Regions from separate parts of the Homo sapiens genome. Here region 1 is linked to region 2. Evidence: promoter capture Hi-C in 16 types of primary human blood cells and fetal thymus (Javierre and others, 2016). All regions are on one chromosome and are shown on one strand. Each heading gives the region's core, a stretch centred on a gene start or on the middle of the fragment in contact. The rest is flanking DNA. Distances are from core to core; before and after follow the strand shown.

What was found. The method cuts DNA at HindIII sites, captures the fragments that hold promoters and counts their contacts. A CHiCAGO score of 5 or more calls a contact.
Region 1: a fragment that was not itself captured here is called in contact with the fragment with the promoter of PPP1R2 in region 2 in 3 of 17 cell types (naive CD4 T cells, non-activated CD4 T cells and total CD4 T cells); the score reaches 7.0 in naive CD4 T cells.

Annotation. Positions count from the first base shown.
Region 1 is chr3:195,865,130-195,867,829 of GRCh38, reverse strand. TNK2 (tyrosine kinase non receptor 2) reads left to right here. Exons shown (of 16, transcript NM_001382273.1): 13 at 1-469; 14 at 566-661; 15 at 814-941. Among named protein-coding and RNA genes, the nearest start is that of LINC01983, 6.1 kb to the right of the region's middle. The HindIII fragment of the contact is 9,288 bases long and covers 1-2,700 here.
Region 2 is chr3:195,541,955-195,544,654 of GRCh38, reverse strand. PPP1R2 (protein phosphatase 1 regulatory inhibitor subunit 2) reads left to right here and starts at 1,330. Exons shown (of 6, transcript NM_006241.8): 1 at 1,330-1,751. The coding sequence starts at 1,630. RefSeq lists a silencer at 1,119-1,358. The HindIII fragment of the contact is 8,075 bases long and covers 1-2,033 here.

The sequences.
Region 1 (2,700 bases), core at 34-2,533, 320 kb before region 2:
AAGCTCACCTGGGAAGACCATGCCCACCACCCAGAGCTTTGCCTCAGACCCCAAGTACGCCACCCCCCAGGTGATCCAGGCCCCTGGCCCGCGGGCTGGTCCCTGCATCCTGCCCATCGTCCGGGATGGCAAGAAGGTCAGCAGCACCCACTATTACTTGCTGCCCGAGCGACCATCCTACCTGGAGCGCTACCAGCGCTTCCTGCGTGAGGCCCAGAGCCCCGAGGAGCCTACCCCCCTGCCTGTGCCTCTGCTGCTGCCCCCACCCAGCACCCCAGCCCCCGCCGCCCCCACGGCCACCGTGCGGCCGATGCCCCAGGCTGCCTTGGACCCCAAGGCCAACTTCTCCACCAACAACAGCAACCCAGGGGCCCGGCCACCACCCCCGAGGGCCACTGCTCGGCTGCCACAGAGGGGCTGCCCTGGCGATGGGCCAGAGGCGGGCCGGCCAGCAGACAAGATCCAGATGGTGAGCACCCAGCCTGGCTGTGGGCGAAGCGGGGCAGGGCCCAAGGGGCCTGGAGCAGTGGGCCCTAGTGGTGCTGACAGGGGTGGGTGTGCCCAGCTGCAGGCCATGGTGCATGGGGTGACCACAGAGGAGTGCCAGGCGGCCCTGCAGTGCCACGGCTGGAGCGTGCAGAGGGCTGCCCAGTATCTGAAGGTACCGCCACCTCCTGCTCACTCTGGCTCTCAGGGACCCTGAAGCCTGGTTCTGCTGCCCCCAGCCCCACGCCCCCTGGCTCCGACTCCCCTCTTCCCCACCCTAGTCGGTGCCCTGGGCCCGCGTGTCCATGGCGCCACCCTTACCCCCAGGTGGAGCAGCTCTTCGGGCTGGGTCTGCGGCCCAGAGGGGAGTGCCACAAAGTGCTGGAGATGTTCGACTGGAACCTGGAGCAGGCCGGCTGCCACCTTCTGGGCTCCTGGGGCCCTGCCCACCACAAGTGAGTGAGCCCCACAGTCTGCCCCGCTCCGTGCCCCAGGAGGGCTGTCCCAGAGCCTGCCACACTGGGAGGAAGCCCAACACCTCGCAGGCCGCTCCCGGCCAGGGAGACACAGCTCTCCAGCTGCGGGAGGGAGGCGCTCACAGGGCCCAGCAAATCGTTTTTCCTAAATGTGTTTATTTGGACATTTTAGCCACTTGGTTTTCAAATGAGTACAAGAGGGAATTGGAGCCTCTCTGGTTGAAGGAGGCTTGCTTCCCTAGCACCTGCAGTGACCCTGAGCGGCTCCAGGAATGGCACTTTTTAGGACCCCATGATTTGCACACCTCTTTCTCACCTCTGTGTTTCCATATTTCTGTTTAAAGTAACATTTAAAATTTCAGTGTTGGCTGGGCACCGTGGCTCATGGCTGTAATCCCCAGCACTGTGGGAGGCCAAGGAGGGAGGATCACCTGAGGTCAGGAGTTCGAGACCAGCCTGGCCAACATGGCGAGACCAGGTCTCTACTAAAAATACAAAAATTAACCGGGTATGGTGGTGGGCACCTGTAATCCCACCTGCTGGGGAGGCTGAGGCAGGAGAATCGCTTCAACCTGGGAGGCGGAGGTTGCTGTGAGCTGAGATTGCACCACTGCACTCCATCCTGGGCGACAGAGGGAGACTGTCTCCAAAAAAAAAAATTTTCTCTAAAAAGAAAATATATTGTCTTTCCTGTAAAAGGTTTATATTATAGTTTAACAAAATATATAGACATTTAAAATATATACATATATAAACACACTTTATATATTATGTAAATATATATATGAGAGCGCTGTCAAGTCAAAAAGAAGTGAACTGAGGTCACATGGCTGGAGCCAGCACCATGGCAGGAGGCACTGGCGGGAGGAGGGGCTGACACGGGCCAGGCCCTGGAGATACCTGCTGCCCTTGTCCCAGCAGCGTGGCCCTGTGCACGGTGCGGAGTTTCTCCACATATAAAGCGTGTAGATAATAGTGCTCACCCCGTGGAAGGGACTGGCGCGATGGATGGGGGACATGTCTGTCTTATTGCGCCCAGCACGCCTGGCGCCAGGATGCAGGCACTCCGTGTCACCTGTCTGTCCCATACTGTCTCGGGTGGTTCTTACTGATTTGCAGCTGGGATGCAGGCACTCCCTGTCACCTGTCTGTCCCATACTGTCTCGGGTCGTTCTTAACTGATTTGCACCTGGGACGCAGGCACTCTGTGTCACCTGTCTGTCATTGTCTCGGGTGGTTCTTACTGATTTGCACCTGGGACGCAGGCATTCGCTGTCACCTGTCTGTCACTGTCTCGGGTGGTTCTTACTGATTTGCACCTGGGATGCAGGCACTCCGTGTCACTTGTCTGTCCCAGTCTCGGGTGGTTCTTACTGATTTGCACCTGGGATGCAGGCACTCGGTGTCACCTGTCTGTCCCATCCTGTCTCGGGTCATTCTTAACTGATTTGCACCCGGGACGCAGGCACTCTGTGTCACCTGTCTGTCACTGTCTCGGGTGGTTCTTACTGATTTGCACCCGGGACGCAGGCACTCGCTGTCACCTGTCTGTCACTGTCTCGGGTGGTTCTTACTGATTTGCACCTGGGACGCAGGCACTCGCTGTCACCTGTCTGTCACTGTCTCGGGTGGTTCTTACTGATTTGCATCTGGGACGCAGGCACTCGCTGTCACCTGTCTGTCACTGTCTCGGGTGGTTCTTACTGATTTGCATCTGGGACGCAGGCACTCGCTGTCA
Region 2 (2,700 bases), core at 81-2,580:
GTGCCAGGAACTCATCTAGGAGCTAGGGGCTCGGGGCCAGACGATAAAAACAATCGTTTTCAGAACCCTACAGTCATCCCTGAGGGGCAGAGTCCTAAGGACACAGAACAGGGTCATCCTCAAAAGGCACAGAGCCTGTGTTAAAGAAGATGAGACTGTGGTCCAGAGATGAGCCATGGGAGTGAAACTGCTGCTATAGGGGCTAGATAGGGGAAAACGCTTCCTCTCACCCCCCACAGCAGTGGACAGACATTGCTGGGAGCGAGGTGTCAGCTCAATCTAAGAACTCCCAGAGTCAGAGCTGTCCAAAAACAAAATGAGTTACACGGGGGTGTGGCGGGCTTCTAGCCCCTGGGGTTGTTGGAGAAACAGGCTGAATAGCCACCTTATGGGCCTGCTTGACAAGGTCCCTTCCAGGACCAGTGGTCTGTGAATCCGCAGGGGCTGGTCCACCGGAGGGGCCAGTTCTGGGTGGCTCAGTCTGCTGTGCTCTAACCTGTGGTGAGGACGATAAAAAGGCCTGATCAAGAAAGAGTCATGGAAAAGAGCCTGGTGATGAGCGAGCTGCGGACTGGACTTGGGAGAGGGAGGGAAGGGAGTGTACAGGGACCATAACAAATACCACACACGAGGTGGCTTTAAGCAATGGAAATGGGCTCTCCGTTCTGCAGGCTTGAAGTCCACATCAACCTGCGGCAGAGTTGGTTCCCTCTGTGGGGGGAACCTGTCGCGGCCTCTGCGGGCCCAGGAGGTCCTTGGCTGGGAGATGTGTCCCTGCCGCCCTCCCGTCTCCTGCGCTCTCTGCCTAGACGGGTTGTGCGACGGCGGGGGTCGCTGCCCGTCTGTCCGTCGGCTTCTCCAGCGGTAAAAGGAGGTGAGGCGATTCCAATGCAGACATTCTATGATTTCATAATAGGCCTCTAAGGACCACTCCAATGCTGGCAGTCCATGCTTTTATAATAGGCAGTTCGGCTGTTTACACGGGCGAAATGGAAAGAGGAGATACCCGTTTTCTTCAAGTCAGCTAACCTCTCTGCGGAGTGACGTCACCTCGAGTCTCAGTCTGCTGATCTAAAAAATAAAAATAACACTACGGCCTCACAAGGTGGTGGGACGAGGGTGCTCGAGAGACGCGCGGGTCCGGGAAGCAGCAAGCCCGGGCGCTCTCCCGCAGGTTCTCAGAGACAGCTCCCGCCTCCCAGCGCCGCGCGGGGGCGGGGCGAGCAGCCCGGGCGGGACGGAGGGGGCGGGGCGAGGAGGTCGGCTTTGTTCTCGCCCCGCCCTCTCCCCGCCTCCTCCCTAGATATCGCGAGAGGGCGGGTCCGCTTGGCTTCGGCGTCGCGTCGCTCCTGCGCTGGAGCTCTAGGCCGGCGTCTCTCCGCGAGCCGCGGGTCAAGTGCCAGTGGCTAAGGGTGCGCGAGTAGCCGCCACCCGTTCGGCGTTGGCTCTGGCGTCGGGGTCGTTGTGTCGTGACAACCGCTGCGGTAGCCGTTTCCGAGGCAGCAGTTGCGGCCGCTTTAGCCCTGAGCGGGATCTGCGGCTGCCTGCGAGTCTCTGCTGTGCCGACCCTTCTCTTCGCGGACCCCACGCCAAGCAGCGACCCTGAGCCGACAGCCGGAGCGCCCGGCAATGGCGGCCTCGACGGCCTCGCACCGGCCCATCAAGGGGATCTTGAAGAACAAGACCTCTACGACTTCCTCTATGGTGGCGTCGGCCGAACAGCCCCGCGGGAATGTCGACGAGGAGCTGAGGTGAGCGCTGGGAGGGACGGCCTGGGAGCCCCTCCTTCCCGCCGGGCCCGTTACCTACCCAGACCCCAGGGGCGGGCGGGCGGCGTGGATGCGGCTCGGGTGCCGCTCGAGTCTCTTCTCCTGCCCGGCTAGCCGCGGGTGGGAGCGATCTTTAAGAAGGCTGGGCGATGACGTTTATCATGCTTCCTTTTTTTTTTTTAAGCATTTGGGCATATATAATATTTTTAAACATCATCTTTGAACTTTCTGTAATCGGGAACATCAAAGAATGAAATTGAAGCTTCAGATCTTCGACTGTTAAGCTTTTACTATTTCTTAACCTCATCTCTGAGGTATCTAAAATTCTTCGATAATTACAGTGTATTTTCTTGCTTTGGGAACCCTTTAAGATCTAGTCTCAAGCTAATAGGCGATCCGTCAAAGAAGAGACCATTTCCCCCATTAGCATTGTGCCACACTGTATTTCTGCATCTGCAACCAGAGTTTTGGGTGCTTTCTAGTTTTTGTTCCTGTTCAGAGATAGATCTAAGCTCAAAACAGTTCAAAGAGGAGCAACTTGAAATGACCCAGTGGTAATTTAGTTGCTCTTGCATACGCTAAAGATACACATGTAAAAAGTTGTTGACCTGAGCATTGTATGTAATATTTATAATATAATTGGAAACGACCGGAAGTCCATTAGTAAGAGCTGGTGAAATATTAATTACGGTACGTTTGTATAATGGAACAATATACTAGCCTTTAAAAAAAGAAAGGTAGGCGTTTATGCACGGAGAAAATGTTGCAGTACAGTATCTGTAGTGGGTTAGAAGTGCACGGGGGCTTGGGCGTTGCAAGATACTAAAAATAGAAGGACTCTACTTTCTGAAAATAAGGCTTAAGAAAAGTTACCATTGAAATTGGTAGTCAGAAGCTAAAATGAGGATGTTTGTGAAATCTCAGAATATAG